Regions from separate parts of the Homo sapiens genome. Here region 2 is linked to region 1. The links are contacts of gene promoters, found by promoter capture Hi-C in human tissues and cell types (Jung and others, 2019). All regions are on one chromosome and are shown on one strand. The core of a region is centred on a gene start or on the middle of the fragment in contact, and the rest is flanking DNA. Distances in the headings are between cores, read along the strand shown. Region 1 holds the start of GPR85 (G protein-coupled receptor 85). Region 2 overlaps SAMTOR (S-adenosylmethionine sensor upstream of mTORC1).

What was found. The method cuts DNA at HindIII sites, captures the fragments that hold promoters and counts their contacts. A contact is called where the count stands out against the background at its distance.
Region 2: a fragment that was not itself captured here is called in contact with the fragment with the promoter of GPR85 in region 1 in 1 of the 25 tissues and cell types used here (lymphoblastoid cells).

What each region holds. Positions count from the first base shown.
Region 1 is chr7:113,084,245-113,089,554 of GRCh38, reverse strand. GPR85 (G protein-coupled receptor 85) reads left to right here and starts at 2,728. Exons shown (of 3, transcript NM_001146267.2): 1 at 2,728-3,233; 2 at 3,446-3,563; 3 at 4,664-5,310. The coding sequence starts at 4,834. RefSeq lists a silencer at 2,983-3,042. The HindIII fragment of the contact is 9,773 bases long and covers 1-5,007 here.
Region 2 is chr7:112,927,720-112,933,029 of GRCh38, reverse strand. All of the region lies in intron 1 of SAMTOR (S-adenosylmethionine sensor upstream of mTORC1), which reads left to right. Among named protein-coding and RNA genes, the nearest start is that of SAMTOR, 9.5 kb to the left of the region's middle. The HindIII fragment of the contact is 5,138 bases long and covers 1-5,127 here.

The sequences.
Region 1 (5,310 bases), core at 1,479-3,978:
AACAGGCAACCTACAAAATGGGAGAAAATTTTCGCAACCTACTCATCTGACAAAGGGCTAATATCCAGAATCTACAATGAGCTCAAACAAATTTACAAGAAAAAAACAAACAACCCCATCAAAAAGATAGTTAAAGTTTTAAAGAAAACTTTAAAAAGGCTCTTTTTCATATACAACTTTAAATTTTGGTAACAGTTGAGAGCACCAAAGACACACGTTTTATGCTTTAAGCAGAAGACATGTCATTTGAAATGAATTACTAAAAATCTTTTATTTAGAATGTTTATTCTAGTCTATTATTCTCTGCAATTACCAAGTGTTATTTCCTGACACACACTTTCATGTAAACAATGCACAGAAAAAAACACTGTTTTTGCTGATCATGATACTATGCATCAGTTGGCAAAAATCTGAAATAGATTAATTTTGAAAGCAAGGTCATTGGTTTTTAAAATAAAATGGTATGTACTTTTTATAAGAACCAAATTAAGCAAATTATATCAGTTTTCCTAATACACTGATCAATATAGTACATGTAATATTCCAACAGTTTGTAAATCTTCAGAACCCTTCAAACCCAAGGATTAGAGCATATAGTTTTGTTGTATTTGCTTTGTTCTTTTACTCTTAACCTGAAAATCAAATTTTCTGGGTTTGGTGATGTAGGGGATAAAAAAAAAAGAAATTAGTTAAGACCAACTAAGCCTATGATCTAAACAATTTGAAGCAATAACTTTACATTTGAGAACTTGTAGATGATATGAAACTTTTGTCAGCTATTAAACATATTTTTTAAAGCCCTGCTGATGAAAGATGTAGCTTCCAATGTTTTCTCCAGTAGAGTTAATGAGCTAGATAGAAAATATCTCATTAATTTCTTGAGTCCCCTTGTGAGGCAAGAAAATGACATTCTTATCCAACAGCTGGAAAAGCTGAAGAATTAGTGGATGTAACTGTGCTCAACTGCAAAGGAAAAAAATAGCTTTACTATACCCTGAGATGTGGATATGAAAGAATATTGCATACACATATACCCTCTCCCTTATTTTTAAGGAATCAATATCTGCTTAAAGAATAAGACTAGTTAAAACCCTTGGATCTTGGCCCTATAACTTTTGGCAGAGTATATTACTGCTTCATGGCCTGGCAGTGCAGTGACTCTTTTAATTTACTTTAAAATAGCTTTTCCCTAATCTGTACAACCTAACATCTGACCAATCATGAATCTTCAGCAAACTTAAGCCTCTTATTCCATACATTTTTTAAAACTGTAAAAATTCAGGAAATAACTCTTTGCAAAGTACATTGAAGCATTTATTGGGAAGCAAAAAAGCACAAGTTGAAGTGATTTGTAGTTTCATAAAAACGAATTTGACATTTTACTTAGAAGTTGCAAACCACCACATGGTTTTGAGTTTTGAATTCATTTGCTTTGCAAAAAGTGGAATGTTTTATTTGAATGGAAATGCCCTCAAGTTACTTCCAGCATGGCTGTAGGATTGATTTTTCTAGGTTAAGGGAATGCCAAAGTTTAGTGCCTTGTGTATATTCTTTTCGAAAAAAACAAACTATTATCCATGTATTTAAATGGACGTAGGAAATTCAAGAACAAATCAGGGAAATTTAACATCATTTCAGTATTACCAACATAGGGCTTTGTGTAACGACTGTGACATCAAGATAAGGCTTTACCTCGGCTCATCCAATAGAAATACAGTATGTAAATTAACCCATATTATCTGTATGCTGATTGGCCTGAGTTCCCCTGAATGTCACAATCTCACCACCCAGCAATGAGGTATTTTACTGCTGTCTCAAGATCAGATTATTACTGTAGAGAAGATTTTTATTTTTTGTTTCATTAACAGATTATTATAAAGCAAAAAGCATGCAGAAAAAGAAGCAGACGTTTTACATTGGGAATTAATGAAAGCGTGTCTGCTAGTTTTGGGTAGGAGAACTGGGAAGTTGTTGCTTAAAATTTTATATCACCTCCACAAACAAAACTCTTCGGAAATGGTAAAATAAGAAAATGCATGATTCTAGAGGCATTCCTAAGCACCCACGTGTCAGGCTTTGTGGTGTCTGTGGTATCATCCGACCGTTTGGACTGGTGTAAGTTTTACGTATTTGTTATATTTCTAGTATTTTTCATCTGTAATAACAAAGGGGAAAAAAGGAAACTCGTACACATAACTGCTTTGACATCACCCATCATTGGTCAGCGGAACTTGTAAGAAGGGAAAAGGAATACTGTTGCTTGGTGGGGTGGAATGCCAGGAATAGCCATTTAAACATTTTATAAGCCTGATTCTTTAGTGACATCCTTTAAGGTAGACTGAATGTAAATCATATTGTAGTTGTCCTCTGAACTTAGCTTTCTCCCTACTTTTACGCATATTTGCGTGCATTGGAGAATAGAAGATGACTAACAAAGAGAGAGCTGCCCTAACGTGCCTTCCCTTCTTCCCCATTGAAAAGATTTTTAACTGTGGGAAAAAGATAAATAAATAAATAAATAACTTTTTTTCTTTTTTCCCATTCTTTTCTTGTCTTTTTCCAGCTAACCTGCAAATTTAAAGGTTAGCTGGAGACATCACTTAAAAATAAATATATAAAAGAAGCCTCCGGTGGTTTGGACCACCCTAAAAGAAAAGGGAAGAAAGTGTCTGGGGAAGGTTAGGGTTCCGGGAAGCTGAGGGAGGGGGCGGGCGTCACGGGCACTGTGACTTCCTCGTGCGCTGCCTTTGGGAAGAGGATGGGCCTGAGGTCCTGAAAGGGCCTTTCCAGCCCCCCACTACAAATGCGGGGAGGGAAAAGTTCAGAAGCAGCCACGAAGGGACAAAAGCTTAATGCTGCCAGTTGGATTGGACAGGGCAGTCAATAAACCCAGCCAGCTCTGGAGTCAGGTAGGGGTTCCTGCTGGTTCCACAGAGGCTGAAGCAGCCCCGCCGCCGCCCTCGCCACCGCAGCCGCCGCCGCCGCGGCCCCTGCGTTACTGGGGGAGACGGTGCCGCTGCGACAGGGGAGGACGCGGCTGGAGCTCAAGGAGGCTCCAGCGCGCAGGCGCCGCCGAGCCCTGCCTGGATGCTCAGTCAAGGCACTAAGGCAAAAAAAAAAAAAAAAAAAACAAAAAACAAAAAAAAAAAAAAAAAAAAGAAAAAGAAAAAAAGAAAAAAATCAGCAATTTATAGAAAGAAGCTATAGTCTGTCGGGATATCCAACACCAACAGGTAGGAGGATATACTCTTGGTTAAGTTTGGGGGATGTGGGGGAATGCACAGTGTTGATGAAACTGCAGGTTCACCGAGAAAGAGCCCTCCCTCAGGTTGTGTGTGTGTGTGTGTGTGTGTGTGTCTCTGTGTGTGTGTGTGTGTGTGTGTGTGTATGTGTTTTGTGACAATAAACTGCATAATGGAAGTACATTCAGACAATGCATCTTCAGTAGGGCTTACTGAGAGCTCCATTTCTGGAAAGCCTTACAAGACTGAGGAATATCAGACTGCGAATCACCGGGAACGGTTCCTTTGCAGCACAGAAGCAATCTCTCTCCCCATCTTCGCGTATGTAATGCATGTCTCTCTCCCTCTCCCCCTCCTCCACCCTCCCCCCATTATAAATCCAGGGGTGGCGGATTTCAGGTTTCGTAATGTTGCATGATGCGATCGGTATTTACCCGAGGATGTACCGGTGGGGAAATTAAAATCATCGAACGCAGTTTTGCCTGGGCTTCCACCAGCATATTCCGGGCCAGTGAGAAGTGGCAAAAGAAACACGCTTGGTGGGAATAACAGAGGAAGCCGATTTCCCTGGTGTGGTCCAGGCACCTGCGAGACAATGTGCATTTTGTTTTAAAAAGCAGCCACTTGTGATTTGCAACAAAGGTTATCAGTGTAAATGGGAAAGGCTTAATTGCCCAAGAAATACAGGTTCATGTTATATTCATTTGAATCCAGGCAGCCAAGGTTTACAAATGGAAGTGCATTATTCCTCTGGGTGTGTTTCCCTGTCCAATATTTACATTAACCATTTTAATAATCATGTGGGCTTAAAAGATTTGCCAGAAATGGGGGGTAGGGTGGAGAGGGAAAGACAAATGATTAAATCACATCAAATCTTGGGACAAGTAAGTTCCTATTAATTTTGAAGTTAATTTTGAAATTTTGCTTTAAGATGAATCAACAAATACTCTTATGCAGCATGAATAGTGGCACTTAAGATATATTTTGCACGGGTTCTTTGGACCCACATCAAACAGAGAAGCTGCCTGTGAAACACTGACAGATACTAATAGATCTCAAATAAATGTAGGTAGTGTCTCTGCCTCCTAATAGCAATCTTGTAGATTCCATTGCAATTCTAGTGGTTAATTCCTGGACTGGCATATTTTACAAGAATGGGACATTTTATTCCTTCTCTCCTAAAGTTACCCTATCAAATGTATATTGTCCAAAATAGGGACATTTTAAAATTCACTTAGCTTGAAAAACTAAACAAGCCAATTCTCTGAAATCTCGAGCAAAAATATTTAGTAAAGCAAATATTAGTATTCAAAATTAAAACTTTATTTGCTTCCCCATAAGTGAACAGCTTTGTTAGCACTGTCTGACATCATTGCTTGTTAACTTAAGAACTGATAGGTTTTTTTTTTTTTTTTTTTCAGATATTCTGATGGCAAAACAAGTGGAAGAAAAGAGGAAGCATGACTGCAGATCAGATCAGTTCTCTTTGTGGATTATATTTTCAGTAAAATGTATGGATCTATCTTTTCCTTGTTCTTATATCTAGATCATGAGACTTGACTGAGGCTGTATCCTTATCCTCCATCCATCTATGGCGAACTATAGCCATGCAGCTGACAACATTTTGCAAAATCTCTCGCCTCTAACAGCCTTTCTGAAACTGACTTCCTTGGGTTTCATAATAGGAGTCAGCGTGGTGGGCAACCTCCTGATCTCCATTTTGCTAGTGAAAGATAAGACCTTGCATAGAGCACCTTACTACTTCCTGTTGGATCTTTGCTGTTCAGATATCCTCAGATCTGCAATTTGTTTCCCATTTGTGTTCAACTCTGTCAAAAATGGTTCTACCTGGACTTATGGGACTCTGACTTGCAAAGTGATTGCCTTTCTGGGGGTTTTGTCCTGTTTCCACACTGCTTTCATGCTCTTCTGCATCAGTGTCACCAGATATTTAGCTATCGCCCATCACCGCTTCTATACAAAGAGGCTGACCTTTTGGACGTGTCTGGCTGTGATCTGTATGGTGTGGACTCTGTCTGTGGCCATGGCATTTCCCCCGGTTTTAGAC
Region 2 (5,310 bases), core at 1,309-3,808, 160 kb after region 1:
CCCCCACCAATTCAAGTAAAATTTTCTAAAATGTTCCTCTTTAAATCAGAAGTACTGTTGTACTGGAAGTTTAGCAGCATAATGTTTTTAACAACTTTAAATCTAGATTATTAAGGATTATGGTTTAGAGTCCGATCTTCAGGCCTCTTTTGAAATGACCTCTTCGTGGTTGGTCTTTTAGGCCAGTTTATTGTAATGTAAACTCTTGAAACAAAGATCTGGGTTTTTATTAATCATCACAAACCCCATCCCCACAAACACAGTTGTGTACAGCACCTAGCACAGAATCCTACATAAGTAAGTGCCCCTACCTAAGTGCCCCTCTTACCTTGTGCTTCCATAGCATGATTGTGCCTACCTTTATGGTATTTATAACTTACCAGTTCATTTGTCTGTTTTATCTACTAAACTTAGTTTCTTGAGTAAAACTCTGCCTTTTATCTCTGTAGCCTTAGTACATAGCACCAGGCCTTGTAGATTTAAGGCACACGCACAGAAGAAGCTAATGTAAATATTTCCAGATAGTTGAGTTTTATCTTTTTATATTCATAACTTTAAAATTTTAACTTGTGGATACCCATGTTTTCTAATTTATGCTCATGTCTTCTTAAATTGAGTATATTAGATTAATTTTACCCTTTTTTAAATGGTCCAAGTTATTCTGAATAGCATTCTATTTTTCTATAAATATAATGGTAAATATATCCTTACACTCATTATGGTATCTTTATTTGTTCTCATAAGGATGTTGTAGTGGGTATAATGTATGTCTCTCTGTATGTTGGTAATAAAAATGGTAATAGTGAGCTGGGTACGGTGGCTCATGCCTGTAATCCCAGCACTTTGGGAGGCCGAGGCGGGTGGATCACGAGGTCAAGAGATAGAGACCATCCTGGTTAACTTGGTGAAACCCTGTCTCTACTAAAAATACAAAAAATTAGCCGGGTGTGGTGGCATGTGCCTGTAGTCCCAGCTACTTGTGAGGCTGAGGTAGGAAAATCACTTGAACCTGGATGGCGGAGGTTGCAGTGAGCCGAGATTGCACCACTGCACTCCAGCCTGGGTGACAGAACGAGACTCCATCCCGAAAAAAGAAAAAAAAAAAAAAAGTAATAGTTTTGTGTATTTGTTTATATTTACAGATAAAAATTTTTCAACCCCAATATATCAGTCTCTTAAATTTGAAGTGAAATTTATACTAGTTACAAAATCTAACATCTGACAACCACTAAACTATACTGACCTATTGTGCTTTAAGTGTAGATACACTAATACCCATTGCTGTGTTTATTTTAGAATAGGTGGTTAATCTTCATGCATTTAGAGCAGCATGTGAGTATCCATTTCCATTTATATAGAAATTAGGGTAAGACTTTTTAATTGAACATATGAAAATTAAGTTCCAAAAGGCTGTTCATAAATCCTTTTGTTTGAAAGTTGAAAATTAAACTAAGCAAGTGCTCTGTGTGGTCATAGACCCACCTGTGAAGTTCACTTTCACAAGGGAATAACATGTTGGTGACATTGGTTATGATTTTTCTTGATTTCTTTCCATCTGCCTTATAGGATGTGTTCACAGACTTGCATTTTGGAGTAAGTATTTTTATCGTTGATATGTTTATAATAAAAGGCTGTTCCAAGAACAGAAGATACACCGTGAGCCAGTGTTTGTAGATATTAAGTTTAATCCATGCATTGATTTGTTTTGTTGTGTTTTTTTTTTTGTTAATTAAATTGGACTCTTAAGGTTGTCCCAACCCCCTGCTCTCTATATTATTTTGCCAGGCTTTTAAGCTCACAACCTTGCTATACACCATTGGTTTTAAGCCATAGCTACACGTTGGATTCATCCGGGGAGTGTTAAACTAAATGACCAGTTGCCACTCCAGACCAGTTAAATGAAACTTCTGGGTGATTCCAATGTGCAGCCAGAATTGGCAGCCAGAGTTGAGAACCACTGCCAGAAATCTAACAAATAATGCAGTTGCAGAGACTAAATAACTGCATTTGACTGACAAAAGACCATTTGTTTGTGGTTAGTAGAGTCTGTGTACTTTCCTCTGTTGCAAAGCTTTGCTCATATCCATGAAAGTTCATGAATTAAAAACTTATGAAGAGAAGCAAAGTTTGTGGTTAGGAGCATGACTTTAGCTTTTGACTACCAGGTTTGTTGTGTAACCTTGGAAAAGTTTACTTAATCGCTCTACTTCAGTTTCCTCATCTATAAAGTAAAATATCTGCCTCAATGGATTGGTATTATAATTAAATGAGTTAATATTTGAAAAGCACTTAAAACAACATTTGGCATATAGGAAACACACTAAGCTTGTAAAATACAGAAATTTAAAAATAACAGCTCTTTTATCTGTAGCTATACTGCTTCAATGCATTTAAGGACTATGACATTAAAGACTGGATGGCTCCTGGAATTTTTACCTAGACTGTTCTGTAGTCTTCTCAGTATTAAAATGACTTTTTCTTTTTCTTCTTTTTTTTTTTTTTGCCCCTTTTGCTGTTTGTGTTTCTAAGTTTTTATATGAAAAGTCCAACCTTTTTAGCATGTCAGAATATTGGTGGTGTTTTCTTCCCACATTAGAGAAATGACTATTCATAACATGTTGGCTATAAGATGCAGGTTTTCAAACTTTTTGTTTTCTGGTTACTTTTTGGCTCTTAATTACCAAACACCTTGGATGTTTTTTATCCCACTTTTAGATGTGTCACTGTATCAGGTGCTCAAGAGCTGAGAAGACTGGTCGTTGTATGGCTTAACTATGTAAGACAATCTGAATTCTGAACATTTTGTTTTAATGCCTTGAAATGGTAGCTGAACTTGTTTGCACTTAGTCATGAGTTTCTTTACTTACCTTGTGTTAGAGAAAATGACCATTAAAGGTACTTTGAACTTGAATTTGGTAGTCTTGTCATCTACAGATAAGGCATCTTAGGGCCCGTATTTGGCAATATGCCTAAGTCAGAATCAAATAAATTGTTCTGAATTTCTAAAAGTTTAAGACTTTTGATACTCATGTATTTTTTTGCTTTTTTAGAGAATTTGATGGCCCTCAAATTTAATGAAATATAATCTTAATTTTGTAACATATACCATGCTTGTGGCACATCATTTTTAAAAATTAAATTTATTGAGATATGATTCATGTACAGTAAATTGTGTCTTTTTAAAGTATATAATTCCGTAAGTTTTGACAATGCATGCATCTCTGTAAAACCATTACCACAATAAGGCGTAGAACATTTTCATCACTGCCAAAATTTTCTCATACTTCTTTGCAGTCGGTCTCTCTCTATACTCTCAGTCTCACATGTCTTTTCACTATAGATTCACCTCCATTTATTTTCGTTTCTTAGCTATTGTGAGTAATGCTGCAATGATTATAGGATTGCAGATATCTCTTTGACATACTGATTTCATTTCCTTTGGATAAATACCCATAGTGGGATTGCTGAATCATGTAGTAGTTTTATTTTTAATTTTTTTAGGAACCTCCATACTGTTTTGGCTGTACTAATTTACATACCCAACATAAGTATACAGGATTCACTTTTCTTCACATCCTCACCAATGCTTGTTATCTCTGGTCTTTTTGATAATAGCCATCCTAACAGATGGGAGGTAGTATCTTATTGTGGTTTTAATTTGCATTTTCCTGATGATTAGTTTTGTTGAGCACCCTTCTATATACCCATTGGCCATTTTTTGTGTTGTCTTTGGAAAAATATCTATTCAGGTCATTGCCCATTTTTTAGTCAGATTATTTGTTTTTTTGCTATTCAGTTTGAGGTTTTTTTTATATATCTTTTGGATATTAACCCCTTATCAGGTATATGGTTTGTAAATATATTTTTATCTTAAAATGGCATCACATATATACTTGCTAACTTATTTTCTGTGCTTTGTATGTTTTAAAAAGGAGAATTAGGATAGAGTTATTGAGAAAAAATATTATTTTTATACACATCAAGTATATAAAAATCAAGTGGTCCTGGCATGTAAAAATGCATGAACCTTAGCACCACCTATTCATTTTTTTCACATATAAGTAATTCTTTATCTATTTGGTGGTGTTACTGTTCATTTCTCCTTGAGCTAATAAATTTTTCGAAAAGATCTGTGTACTGCTATTAAAGAACTTAATGGATATGACTGGACTGTCAGCTGCAAGGTTTTCTTTTGACAATAACACAAAATGAAAAAGCCTTTTTAATAAGCTTAAAACAATGGTCTCTAGAAAAATGACATTGAAATTATTGCTTTTCTGACCTTGGAACTCTTACTTTGAAAACAGTAACTATTGTGAAAAATTTAAATTCTGCTTTTGAGTGACTGCTATTTATTGAAAGCCATCCTCTGTAGTTTGAATTTTATCTTAGCAACTAATTTAATTTGTTTATACTTTTCATGTTTATTTTTTGAGCATGATGAAAATTTAAATATTTTGTCCTCCACTGACTGAGCACCCTAATTAACTTCTCTAATTTATACAAATTGTAAATCAAAAGTAGTCTTTGCTTTTCCATTTATACTTTCTATTGGGAAAATCACACCTGGTTTTAATAGACAGTATGTATAAATGAATGACAAAGTACCGTAAGGATGGCAGATGAGGGAAGTGTAAGATGATAAAGTGGGAGGCAGATAAACCCTCTTGAAGAAAATATGAATTCAGTTACATTTTGAAGGAAAAAAAATGCTGTACCAGATGGCAGGAGAGAGGTTAATTCATAAAGAAAGAATAATATCAACTCTAAATAAATAATTTAGGGATTCCATTGGTTCACTTTAATTTGGAACTGTTTTAGAGCTGCGCTTCTGGATGTTATGTAGAGCAAAAATACTTTTAAACCCATTTCCTTGTACTTGTTTTTTTACAAAGGCAGTTGCATTGTAATAATGTCTTAATCACAAAGTTATTAAAAATGGAACTCTTTTTAAATTAATGAATGTGCTATTCTTTCCTAGTTGTCATTGTCCTTTTATTAGTAGCTCCTAATTTATTTTTTAGTTGTGACATAGTGTTTTTGAAGGTGAGTTTAGTCAATGCAATAGTTATGGTATTATCTTGATATAAGATTCAAAATAATTTGGTTCATTGATTATCATATTGAACTTGGTTTGGCAACTTTAAGTTGGCATCACTCATGTTTAAAATTACGAATTTGTTTTTTAAAATGGGTGTTTGAAAAATTTAAATGTTATGGGATAACTAAATAGAAGTCATGTTAATGTGAACTTTGTTCTAGAATTTTGTAAGACAATTTAAGCTGTAGAGCATATATTTTTGAATTGTG